Regions from separate parts of the Homo sapiens genome. Here regions 2 and 3 are each linked to region 1. Evidence: promoter capture Hi-C in human tissues and cell types (Jung and others, 2019). All regions are on one chromosome and are shown on one strand. The core of a region is centred on a gene start or on the middle of the fragment in contact, and the rest is flanking DNA. Distances in the headings are between cores, read along the strand shown.

Region 1 (4,104 bases), core at 134-2,633:
CTTTCACCCCGGGGGCCACAGCCCACTTCTCACTCACAGATCCCAAATTCTTCCTCCTCACCTCCCCCCGCCCAGGCCAAGGCTCTCCTATGTCCAGGAGGGGAAGATTCTTTAATTAAAGTTTTCCGGAATGTAGGGGGCTGGAGACTGGGGAGAGGCGGAGTGTAATTTAGAGAACTGGTTTCAGTGTCTTCCCCTCTGGCCCCTGGGACCTGCGGAGGGTGGGAGAGCGGCGATGGGGCCGCTCGGAAAACAAGGGGACTCCTGGAGCTGGGGCTCCCAAAGCGATGTTTATTCCTCACCCAGGCCCCCCAGACACGCACAGCCCCCCCCAAGCACTGCTCCCGGCTTCCCAGTCTTATTTACTAAAATGTCTTTTGTATCCACATTTCTCAGGGACGGAATTCTCCCTTCCCTCTCCCTTTCTCCTCGGTCCTCGGTTTTCCAAAAGGAAGAAATGTGACATGGAGAATTGGATTTTTGGTCAAAGAACAACAAGCCTACCCCTCCCAGACAACACATTTTCAAGGAACCCCCCTTTTGCCAGGGTGGACAAGCAAGAAATGAATAAAATCCGAATTCAATGGCATCCCGGATCAGCAAATACCATATTCACTTCAGAGGCTCAAGATGAATCTAGAGCGGTGGGGAGAATCTGATGAAATCCCCCCACCCACTCCCCTGCCCCGGGAGGAGCCCTGAAGCCTTTGGGGTCTGAAATAGGAAGGCAAAGGGGGGTTATTATGGGGAATCTCTTGATGGAGGCGCCGGCAGAGGTGGGGTGGCAGTGAAGGAACAGGATGGTTTTGCCCATGAAGACCCCAAAATGGAGAAGAGGAGTGGCTGGGCCCCAGGGACAGTGCTGGATTTCCAGAAACCCAACTGCAAGCAAATGGGGGGTCTTCGGGGGCCTCTAGATTGGGACGGGCAGAGGGTTAGGATCTAAGAATAAGAAACCTTCTGAGATGGGAAAAGTCCTCCAGCCCCTGCAGCGGGGAGCAGGGAAAATGGTGATTATCAGAGGAGCCAGGAGTTGGATTCTGAAGGCGACACCAGCAGAAAATCCAGGAGGGGTGGGCGGGTGGGGGGCTGGAGGGAGGCGAGGAGAGGAGCCCCAGCCCTGCAGCGGCCCACCCCCAGCCGGCGCCCCCACCTTCCCCGGACGCGGCGGAGAAACCGGGCCGCGGGCAGACAAGAGGCGAGTCTTACCACCAAATTGGGTAGCCAGCGAGGACCCTGGTGCCACCGAGCAGGAGGCCGAGGAGCAGCCCGAGCAGGTGGGGCTCCATTAGAAGAGGCGCCGAGGAGGAAGTTTGCCCGCGACCATGAAGAGGGGGAGCGACGCCCCCAATAGTTGGAACAAAGTCCACTTGAGATTGGAAATGACTTTCGGGCTTGTCAGAAGCGCACCTCCACCCGCAGCCGCCCCCCTCCCGAGCCCAGCGCGGAGCAGCCGGGTTTGAGGATGTCAGCGAGCAGCCAATCAGCGCCCGCGGCCTAAGGTAAGAGATGAGTCTGTAGTTCAGCCTGTCAATCACGCGCCCCTCCCGCCCGGCCCACAACTCGGGCTCCGGGAAGGGCATCGCCCAGCAAACTTGGGCAAAGCCCGCGCCCCGGACGCCGCGGGGCTTCGGGGGGACGCGGTGGGCCGGACCCTCTGCTACCGCCGCGGTCCCCCGCTGGCCAGGGTTAGGGCGCGGGGGCTTTGACCCGGGCGTTCACATGGCGAGGGCTTGGCGTGGGCATGAACGGGTGGCTCCTTTGCTGGCGGGGACCGTGACCCGTTGGGACGTGGGCCCGCGAGGAATCGAGGGTAGAAAGCACAGGGATGTTTCCAGAAGCCCCGCTCGGGCAGGTCAGGATCAGAGGGTGGGGGAACGCACCCCCTCCCAGCTTCCAGCCTCCCGAGTCCGCCCGCTCTCTGGCCTCTCGTCCTGGCCGCGGGAGGTCACTTCCCGGGTGTCCGAGGAACGTGCGGAAAAGTCCGCGGAGGCTCGAAGGTCTGGCTGCGGGCGGCGCCGGGGGACGGAGCCGAGTGTCATTTGAGTCTTTTGTCAGGGATCAGATCGGTATCGGGACCTCCTGCTGCCTTTGCATTTCCTGCAACTGACACCAGCGGCCAGTCGCATTTCCTGCTCTCGGAGTCGGGTCACTTTCTCCTCCTTGAGGGGTTCAGGCCCGACCTCTGGCCCGGGTCGGAGGCGTGACCCACAGCCTCAGTGGGATTCTCGGTTGGACCATCAGGGACCGGTGAAACGCGCAGCTCTGGCCGAGGGCGGCCCAGGTCCTTGGAAGACCTTGCTGCCCTCCGGAGCGCCCCTCACTGCCCGACCGTCCCGCCTGAGGCCCCGGTTCTACTGATAGGGAGCTCCAGCCTGGGGTTTGGCGATAAAGGCCCTTGCCCTGTGCGGACACCAAATGCCTCCAGTTACCCACCCCTCCCCACAGGAAAGGAGTCCTTCCAGGCCCCCTTCGGGCTTGCTTCCTCTCCTCTCCCTCTCCAGAGCGAGGAATTAGGTCTCAGCCCTGGGTGGTATTGACATCATGGTCAGGTTTTGGGGACTCACGCCCGGTCACCTGGGTGCCTTTCCCTAGGCCCCCTCCCAGGCCACCTGAGGCACCAGGACTCTGCGCAGCCCCGGTCTGGGGTGAAGGAAGCACTGCCGGTGGGGAGCAGGGACCGCTGTGTAGGGAACTGTGGCAGAAAGGGCAGAGAATGAGCCGACCCGAGTCCCACAGAGGCCTGGAACGGCGGGCGTTCCACGAGGTGAGGGCCATGGCTGAAGGAAGTCTTACGCCAGGGGGCCAGACATTCCTGGCCTTTGATCTGAGCCCCCCGTACCCACAGCTCCAACCTGCTGCCCCTTCTGGTCGGCGAGCCCTCTCCGCACGCGGCTGCTGCCGGCACAGGGAGCGCGGGGAAATGGCCTCGGGGGCACCAAGGGTCGGGAGAGCCGCCTGGGCTTGTCATGGCTCCTGCTGCGTTCCCAGCCCATTGCTGGACTGGAGGGGGTGGGAGGGGAGGTTGAAAGAGAGGAAGGAAGGGGAGGAAAAGGAGAATCCGAGAGGAGGAGAGAGAGAGAGGGGCTCAGAGATGAGAGAGACGCTGAGACAGAAACCAAGAAAACTGTCGGGGGGAGGCTGAGCCACCGGTGTGAGGAAGAAAGGGGCAGGGGGGAGGCGGAGAGCACCAAGGAGCTGCAAGGCGAAGAAAAATCGTGAACCTGACCAGGAGTGGTGAACCTGGTGGGGGCTGCAGAGATGGGGATCCCTAGAGATGCTCCTCATGGCTGGGCTGATTCTGGGGTGCCCTGTTTCTGATTCACCTGGAAAGAGGGTTACCATTGCCATGAATGCAGAGCCTCAGGACCAAGGCTCTGGCAGTGGAGAGCTTTCCACATACCTCCCTCTTGGATGGAGGCCTGCTAGGTCCTACCTGGAGTCCTGTCCCACCCACAGGGCTCCCAGGTGGCTTTCTGATCAGAGCTGCCTGCTGGAGTCCTGCCCAAGGGCTCGGGAGTTCCAGAGCCCCATGACAGTGGTGCTGAGAGCTGGGGAGGGCTACCTTCCCTGGCCACTCAGACACCACTGTGGATGCAGTATGGTGGGGCGACAGGGCCTGGACTTGATGGCTTCTTGGGGTCATTACTGGGCCTCAAGACTCCACAGGTGCCAACCCTGTGAGGTGGGAGCAAAAGATCCGAGGCTGTCGGTGGGAGTGTGTGTTGGCTGAGATATGCCCAGCCAGCATCCTGGGTGCTGTGGGCAAGAACATCATTCCCTGAGGGGTCATGTGTACCTGAATGCCTCCTCCAGGCAGCCTGGAGAACTCAGACGCAGGTCATGTGCATCAGGCAGGAAACAAGTGGGTTGAAGGGTGGAATCTAGGAGCTGGCCATGTGCGCCTGGGAAGTGACAGAGGAGAGGACTGGAACCTACCAGCGGCCCTGCCAGGCCCCTAGTGAATGGAGGTGTGTGTGGGGATTTCCGCCACTTGAAAGCTCCTCAGACAAGGGGAGCCTGAGTCCCTTCCTTTCCCCCAGGTGTCCTTCCTTCAACACAGGTTTAATTTCCTTCCTCCTGCACCCCTTGCGCTGCCGCGGG
Region 2 (3,825 bases), core at 595-3,094, 37 kb after region 1:
GGACTATAGGCGCGTGCCACCATGCCCAGCTAATTTTTGTATTTTTAGTAGAGACAGTGTTTCACCATGTTGGCCAGGCTGGTCTCGAACTCCTGATCTCAATCTGCCCAACTCAGCCTCCCAAAGTGCTGGGATTACAGGCATGAGCCACCAGGCCTGGCTAGTTTTTTTCATTAAGGAAACCAGTTATAGAATCTTGATGTCCTGGCCCTAACAGTTTTCTGAGCTGGAATGGAAAGGGATGGGACAAATGGTACCTATATCCTCTTACACACTGGCTCATTTCCACGATTCATTTGTTTGCTTGGTTTTTATGGTTAGAGATGGGGCAAGAGTCAGGTGAGATGAGAGGAGAGGGGTTCCAGGAGGACCACCCTAGCTGCTGTATTGGAAGGGAAAGGTGTTCTCAGCAGTGCATGGGGTTAGAATTTTGAGGGAACTGAGCATGGAGCAGCCTTGAAAATGACATGTGAGATGGTCAAATAGGCCTGGGTTAGGGCTGAGAGGGATGAGTATCGGAGCCACCTCTTCCAGGTCAGGAGCCCAGCTGGAAAGAGCTGACAAAAGACACAAAAGCCACCACCACCCCAATCTGGGGAGCAGGACAGATGCTCAGAGAATCAGCTAAAACTGGGGCCTCATGATGTTAAGTGTTTGGTCTCAGGGAACAGACAGGATTCAGCCTGAGCTCTCAGTTAAGAAACCCTCTGGTGACTCAGACCAGGTTTCCCAGCTTCCCATCTGCATTCGCTGTCTGGGAGGAATCTGGTATCAGTCATCTACACTGTAGTGGGAAAGTGAGGCAAAGCGCTTCTTCCTCCGCAGTCATTTGCATTTGATTATAACACAAAGTGCTTTGGCATCCTGATAAGAGAATATGCAAACATCAGGAGGGCAGGTGAGGCCGATCTTCTTGGGCTCTTTGAAATCATAGAATCGTAGACTTCAGAGTTGGAAGTGACCCCAGAAGGATCTCTGGTCCAAAACTCACTGCTTCAAGCAGGATGTATTATTATCCCAATTTTTCAGATGAGGCAACCCCCAAACCCCAAACCACAGTGAGCCAGCTGTTGGTTCTGCTGCTTTTGAGTGAGCCTAGAGCCTAATTCTGTTAATGGTGATAAAAAAAAACATAACTAGTATTGCAGTTTACAAATCTCTTTTTTCTTTTTTTGAGATGGAGTCTTGCTGTGTCACCCAGGCTGGGTGCAGTGTCATGATCTCGGCTCACTGCAACCGCCACCTCCTGGGCTCAAGCAATTTTCCTGCCTCAGCTTTCCGAGAGCTAGGATTACTGGTGCCCCCCATCACACCCCACTAATTTTTGTATTTTTAATAGAGATGGGGTTTCACCATGTTGGGCAGGCTGGTCTTGAACTCCTGACCTCAGGTGATCCACTTGCCTGGGCCTCCTAAAGTGCTGGGATTACAGGCATGAGCTACCATGCCCAGCCCATCACTTTCTCATACAGCCATCTCTCTCATCTGATCCTCAGAGCCATTTCTCCAGAGCCATGTAGGATGGGTGTAAATAGTTCCCACAAGGAATCTGAAGGTCAGAAAGGTTCAGTCAGTCACCCAGTGTTACACAGTGAATCGGTGGGGGAGGTTGAATAGAAACCCTGCTTCCAGTCTGGGCCCTTCAACCTACAGGAACAGCCTCCAGTGCTAAGACAGTATGATTCCCCCAGGGCAGCAGTGGCTGCAGAGAGGCCGAAGGGGGTGAGGGTGGAGGGAGCCTCCCTTCCCTGCTTAATTGACTCTTTTAGACTCTCTTGGCTGTAGTGAGATGGATAAGGCCGCACATTCTTTTCTGTCCTCAGTAGTGAGACGGGTTGCACTGACCCCTGCTAGACTGTCAGTTTGGCTCACAGAACAGCATGATGGCAGTGGGACAGGAGGCGGACCAGAGGTGAGGGTCCAAGCTAGTCCTGGCTCTGGGACACTCTCTGTGTTGTCCCTGATCAAGTCACTCATCTCCAAGGTCAGTAGCACCTGGAGGTGCTAAGGTTCCCTAATGCTAACAGGGCTGGTCCTGGCTCTGGAAGTCTAGGATTGCTGAAGAGTTTTTATTTTGGCTTTGAATGCCTAGGAATTCCACAAATGTTAACTTCTGTGATGTTGTATAAATGAAAATGCACTGCATTATGTGATGAGCTGGGCACAAGACAGGCCCAGTTACCCAATCCAGTCTATTTATTTATTTATTTAGAGACGGAGTCTCGCTCTGTCACCCAGGCTAGAGTGCAATGGTGTGATCTCGGCTCATTGCAACCTCCACCTCCCAAGTTCAACAGATTCTCCTGCCTCAGCTTCCCCAGTAGCTGAGATTGCAGGCATGTGCCACCATGCCTGGCTAATTTTTGTATTTTTAGTAGAGACCATGTTGATCAGGCTGGTCTGGAACTCCTGACCTCAAATGATCCACCCACCTCAGCCTCCCAAACTGCTGGGCTTATAGGTGTGTGCCACCATGCCCGGCCCCCAGTCCAGTCTGTAAGTTATCCGAGTGGCTTTGTAACTAGAAATAGTTTCTGTGGATGCAAGTTTTTAAATCATAATTAACTTTGGTGATGTTTCTTCAGTGTGTGACCTCTGCACTGGTTGAGTTTCTTTCCTCTCTAGGGATAGTACAGAGAAGTTTATGAAAGCCCAAGACAGTGAATCCCAGCTTTGCCTGTTGCTAACTGTGTGACTTTAGACAAATGTCTTAACCTTGCTGAGCTTTGGGTTATGAGAATACCTATCTGAGAGGTGAGGGTGAGGCTTAATTGAAACAATGAATGAAAGGGCTGGATAGGGTGTCTGGCACATATGTGCTAAGTGCTCAGTCCAGGCTCACTCTCAGTGGATGCTGGGGTTCTAAACATCATCCCAGGTGGTGGAAGTGTCATTACTATAATTCCATTGGAGAAACAAAACATAATCTTTATTTTCCCCCCAAATCGTTGTTATATACAATGAAATGCATGCTTTTTCTTTCTTTTTTTTTTTTTTGAGATGGAGTCTCACTATGTCGCCCAGGCTGGAATGCAGTGGTGCAATCTCGGCTCACTGCAGCCTCCGCCTCCCGGTTCAAGTGATTCTCCTGCCTCAGCCTCTCAAGTAGATGGGATGACAAGTGTGCGCCACCATGCCCAGCTAATTTTTGTATTTTTAGTGAAGACACGGTTTCACCATGTTGGCCAAGCAGGTCTCAAACTCCTGACCTCAGGTGATCCACCCACCTCAGCCTCCCAAAGTGCTAGAATTATGGGCGTGCACCACCACGGCCAGCCAATGCATGCATTTTAAATTGCACAGTTTGGGTTTTAACAAATTATACACCTGTGTAACACATTTGTGGTGACTCCAATGACTACATAGAACATTTCTACCATCCTAAAGGATCCTTTGTTCCTCTTTGCAATCAACCCTCTCCCACCAGCCCATGGCTACTCCACTTCTCCGCTTTCAGTCACTATGTGTTAGTTTTGCCTATTCTGGAAGTTTATATCATGAAATTGTGAGTATATAGCCTCTTTTGCTTGGATTATTTTGCTCAGCATAAAGCTTTTGAGATTCATCCATGTCGTTGAATATAGCAATAGCGAATTCCTTTTTATGGCTGAGTATTCCTTTGTATGGCTATACCACAAATTATTTATCCATTCCCCACTTGATAGACATTTGGGTTATTTTGGCTGGGCGTGGTGGCTCATGCCTGTAATCCCAGCACTTTGGGAGGCCGAGACGGGCAGATCACTTGAGGTCTGGAGTTCGAGACCAGCCTGGCCAACATGGTGAAAACCCATCTCTACTAAAATTACAAGAATCAGCTGGGTG
Region 3 (4,014 bases), core at 429-2,928, 44 kb before region 1:
AGAAACCTAGAGGGGCTCTTGGGGGCAACGCAATGCTACCACAGCACCAGGCAGCTTCCTCACCTACTGAGGACTTTCTAGATGGGAGGGACCTAGGGGTGGCAATGCTCTCACCCCCACCCCAAAGCGGTATTTGCATAGCACTTAACACAGCATTGGGGAAATGTCACAAATGTCCACAGCAGGAGCCTGAGGCGCCCACTGTGCAAAAGCCAGGAAGGAAGTCTGTGGCCTTCTTGGTGTCGGCCCTCAAACCTCAGGATCCTGGAGCATCTCAAGGCGGCCCAGCCCCCAGCAGCGCCTGGGAAGGTGTGGCAGTCATGCAACCAAATTTATCACCCTCCCAGAGGGACCCTGGCTTCAGAGAAGAGGCACCCTGACTGGGGTGGAAGGGCATACAGTCCTGATCCCTCCCCCCACCCAGCCCCTCCCCCCCCCTCAGCCCCAAGGCAGTACCTTTGTCGAGGACGGGCCCAAAGATGGCCAGGCTGTCATCTATGGTGGTGCAGTTCCAGCGGCGGCCCCGGAACTGGTGCTGGCACTCCTGGATGCCCAGCTTCACGCCCTCGGCCACGCTGGGCATGATCTCGATGTAATTGCGGCAGAAGCGCAGTTGCTTGGGGACCAGGCCTGGGATGGAGCCGCAGAGCAGGGGCTGTGAGCCCAGAGATGTGTACTGCTGGCCCAGGGCCAGGGACCTGCAGGCAGACAGAGGGTAGTAACACTGTGGGCACAAAGCACAGAGCCCATCCTGGGCACCATGGCCGCTTTGTGAACCCTCCGGGGTAGGTGGAGAGGCAGAGGGCCTGTGCCCTGGCACCTGAATGTGCTACCTTTGACCTCGGGAGCATGCCGCCCCTCAAAGCGCAGAGCTCTGACCCACGCAAGTCAGCCCTCTGGCTGCATCCAGCTTGCAGGGGGATGGGACCGCAGAAGCCGCTTGTGGGGGCCCTTGGGGGCAATGCAAAGCCATGAAAAGAGGTTTGGACTAGAAAGATGGTATTTGGGGCCCAGATCCAGTCCTTTCCAGGTTCTGGGTCCAGCTTCCCTGATGGGCATTGAAGAGATCAGGCTGGGCAATTTCCAAGGCAGTCCAGGATACTGGGGCCACATGGACACTTCCAGTGACTCATGGGACACGCGCGCGCGCGCACACACACACACTACCCTTGGCAATGCCCTCAGCCTCTTCCCTGCGATGGTGCCAGCCCAGCCCAGAGCCTCCCAGTATCTCCCCAAGGAATTGCTGGCTTGCACCAAGTCCTTTGTCTACCAGGGCCTCCATGACCATCTTTCCAGTTTCCTAGAAGTTTCTAGAGCTCCACCTCTTTTCTCATGAGAGACTGGAGCTTGGCTTTGTGTCAAAACAAGTTTAGCACAGAGTCAGAAGGGAGATCTCAGATCTCACTGCCCACACCCAACACCAGGTGACTGGTCAATTCACTCCATTCCTCTGCCCCTCGCTTTGTAATCAATATCCCATCAACTCTCTCAGGTTTTATAGTCAACAACAGAAAGAATGACCTTATGGGGGTGGGGCAGAAGAGTTTAAAATACTAGAAAACCAAGGTAGGAATTACGACTTTTCCGTTCCCTGCCCTCAGCACAGGAACAGCAGAAATGACATTTTCTGGGAGAACCTGAGAAAATGATCCGTGAGTGTCAGTGGCCTTCAAGGACAATTGCAATCTGCTGTATGACCAGGGGCAGTGTGAGCTGGAAGAAGGGGCCCATCTCCTCTCCCTCTGTGTCCAGCACTGACCAAGGCTTTGGTCCAGCATTGGCCTAAGTCAAGTTTCCCACAAAAAGTGATGGGCAAAAGCCTCGGAAAGAGGGGCCGGGAGAAGACCCCATGGGGCAGGGTGAGGTTTTTTGTGTGCTTTTTAGTACACAAAAGCTTCTGGGCTGGACACAGGGCCGAGCCAAACATCTGCCATTTGGCAACTGTTACTGCTTGCCAGGCACTTTATATACAACATTTCTGATCAATTCCCAAACATGAAGAACATCACTATCTCCTGGACTAGGAAACTGAGGTTTAGAGAGTGAATTAGCTTGCCTACGGCTTTTTGGTCTGTGGTGGGTCAGAGAGTGCCATGTGCCTTCCCCCGGGTCCCTCCTCCATACTTGAGCTTGATGTTGGCCTTGGCCAATTCGTGGAGACTCCAAGGCACAGAGCTCCCTGGGCACCGTGCAGGGGCATGCTACCCATCCACCTTGGTTGTCTCCAGGCTCAGTTGTCAGGGGGAGAGGCAGGTTCTCCTTTTTCCATTTGTTTATTTTGGGTGGAGGAACTGAGGAGCCAGATCTGGGAGTTTGGATGGTAACATCTGTGAGGCATTCCAGGTCTTAAGCACTGAGCTTTTTCTAAAGAGAAAGAAGCAGCAGCCAGAAGTTCTTTTTTTTTTTTTTTTTTTTTTGAGACAGAGTCTCGCTGTGTCACCCAGGCTGGAATGCAGTGACGTGATCTCGGCTCACTGCAAGCTCCGCCTCCTGGGTTCACACCATTCTCCTGCCTCAGCCTCCCGAGTAGCTGGGACTACAGGTGCCCACCACCACGCCCGGCTAATTTTTTGTATTTTTAGTAGAGACGGGGTTTCACCATGTTAGCCAGGATGGTCTCGATCTCCTGACCTCGTGATCCACACACCTCGGCCTCCCAAAGTGCTGGGATTACAGGCGCGAGCCACCACGCCCGGCCCAGAAGTTCTGATTTATCGGTGGTAATGGCTAATTACTGATTTCCCCGGTGCCTGGCCCTGAGCAGAGGCTTTTCCTTGGGTTTGCCTCATTTAATCCTCAAAATAGCCCCAGCACAAAGTAGGGTCATTATTAGCCCCATTTTACAGATGGCTTAGCCTTGCAGGTTGATGAAGCAGCCCAGACCACAGAGCTCCTATGGAATTGCTGGTTGGAACCCAGGGTGTCAGACTCCAGAGCCCATGGGGGTCATCACTATGTGACCCTGCCTGCTGGGCAGTGCCTGCCTGGGTCTTCATGGGGTGAAGGTGGCTTCAGGCCTGGCCCATCTGCACCCTGGGCCTCCATACTGAGCACATGCCTGAGTGGGTAGAGTCAGTGAGCCCAGAGCCCTGATGGGCACACGGCGCACACAGCACTGCCCCTGCCCTGTTAGAAGCAGGTTAGAGTGATCATATAATCCCTGTGGTTTATTATGGGCCTATCATGTGCTGGACACAGTTCTGAGTGCTTGTGTCTGTTACCTTATGTAATCCTCACGGCAGGTCTGTAATAAAAACTTCATTATCATCGCCATTGTCCCATTTCCAAGATGAGGAAACTGAGGCCAGGGAGCTAAGTACCCTGCCCTGTCTGCCAGGCTGCAGAGGTCCCCGTTGAGCCTCCCTCTGGGCTCAGGCTGCCCCTCCCGTGCTCTTAAGCAGCATCTCCAGCCCAGCCCTGCTGTGCCAGCTGCCCCCACAGCCCTGCAATCACTGGAGGGGAAACTGAGGGAGAGTTCAGTGCAGACAACTCGGCCTTGCACCATCCTAGATGGGCAGCTCAGGAACAAGACCCAGGGAAGAAGCCTGGGCTGTCCCCGCTCCTTCCTCTGGTGTTTGGGACCCAGAGCCCTATATGGGACCACTGGAGCGGAGAGCTGAGGCGGGAGTGAGAGGCACTCGGAGACCCTTCCTCTGCCCTCCTCCTTCCCCTCCCGTTGCCTTCCTGCCTCCTCCTTCCTCCCCCTCTCCCAGCCCTTGCTTGACACCTTCTGCAGGCCTGGGCACCCTCAAGCTAAACTGGAGGCTGAGCCCTGGTCCAGCAGCAGAACCCACAGGAGGAGCCCTAAGGGAGCACAAAGCCCATTATACAGATGAAAAACAGAGGCCGACCATGCCAGGTGGCTCACGCCTGTAATCCCAGCTACCCAGAAGGCTGAGGCAGGAGAATCGCTTGAACCTGGGAGGTGGAGGTTGTTGTGAGCCAAGATCATGCCGCTGCACTCCAGCTTGGGCGACAGAGCGAGACTTCGTCTCAAAAAAAAAAAAGAAA

Evidence for each region. The method cuts DNA at HindIII sites, captures the fragments that hold promoters and counts their contacts. A contact is called where the count stands out against the background at its distance.
Region 2: a fragment that was not itself captured here is called in contact with the fragment with the promoter of WNT3 in region 1 in 1 of the 25 tissues and cell types used here (spleen).
Region 3: a fragment that was not itself captured here is called in contact with the fragment with the promoter of WNT3 in region 1 in 2 of the 25 tissues and cell types used here (IMR-90 fibroblasts and neural progenitor cells).

What each region holds. Positions count from the first base shown.
Region 1 is chr17:46,817,309-46,821,412 of GRCh38, forward strand. It overlaps WNT3 (Wnt family member 3), which reads right to left and starts at 1,384. Exons shown (of 5, transcript NM_030753.5): 1 at 1,210-1,384. The coding sequence starts at 1,289. It also overlaps a transcript of LRRC37A2 not described here. RefSeq lists an enhancer at 2,439-3,026. The HindIII fragment of the contact is 29,146 bases long and covers 1-4,104 here.
Region 2 is chr17:46,853,506-46,857,330 of GRCh38, forward strand. All of the region lies in intron 1 of WNT9B (Wnt family member 9B), which reads left to right. It also overlaps a transcript of LRRC37A2 not described here. Among named protein-coding and RNA genes, the nearest start is that of WNT9B, 3.8 kb to the left of the region's middle. The HindIII fragment of the contact is 5,707 bases long and covers 1-3,825 here.
Region 3 is chr17:46,773,212-46,777,225 of GRCh38, forward strand. WNT3 (Wnt family member 3) reads right to left here. Exons shown (of 5, transcript NM_030753.5): 2 at 457-698. It also overlaps a transcript of LRRC37A2 not described here. Among named protein-coding and RNA genes, the nearest start is that of WNT3, 43 kb to the right of the region's middle. RefSeq lists enhancers at 1-105, 106-763, 764-1,419, 1,073-1,217, 2,935-3,610 and a cis regulatory region at 1,137-1,152. The HindIII fragment of the contact is 7,321 bases long and covers 1-4,014 here.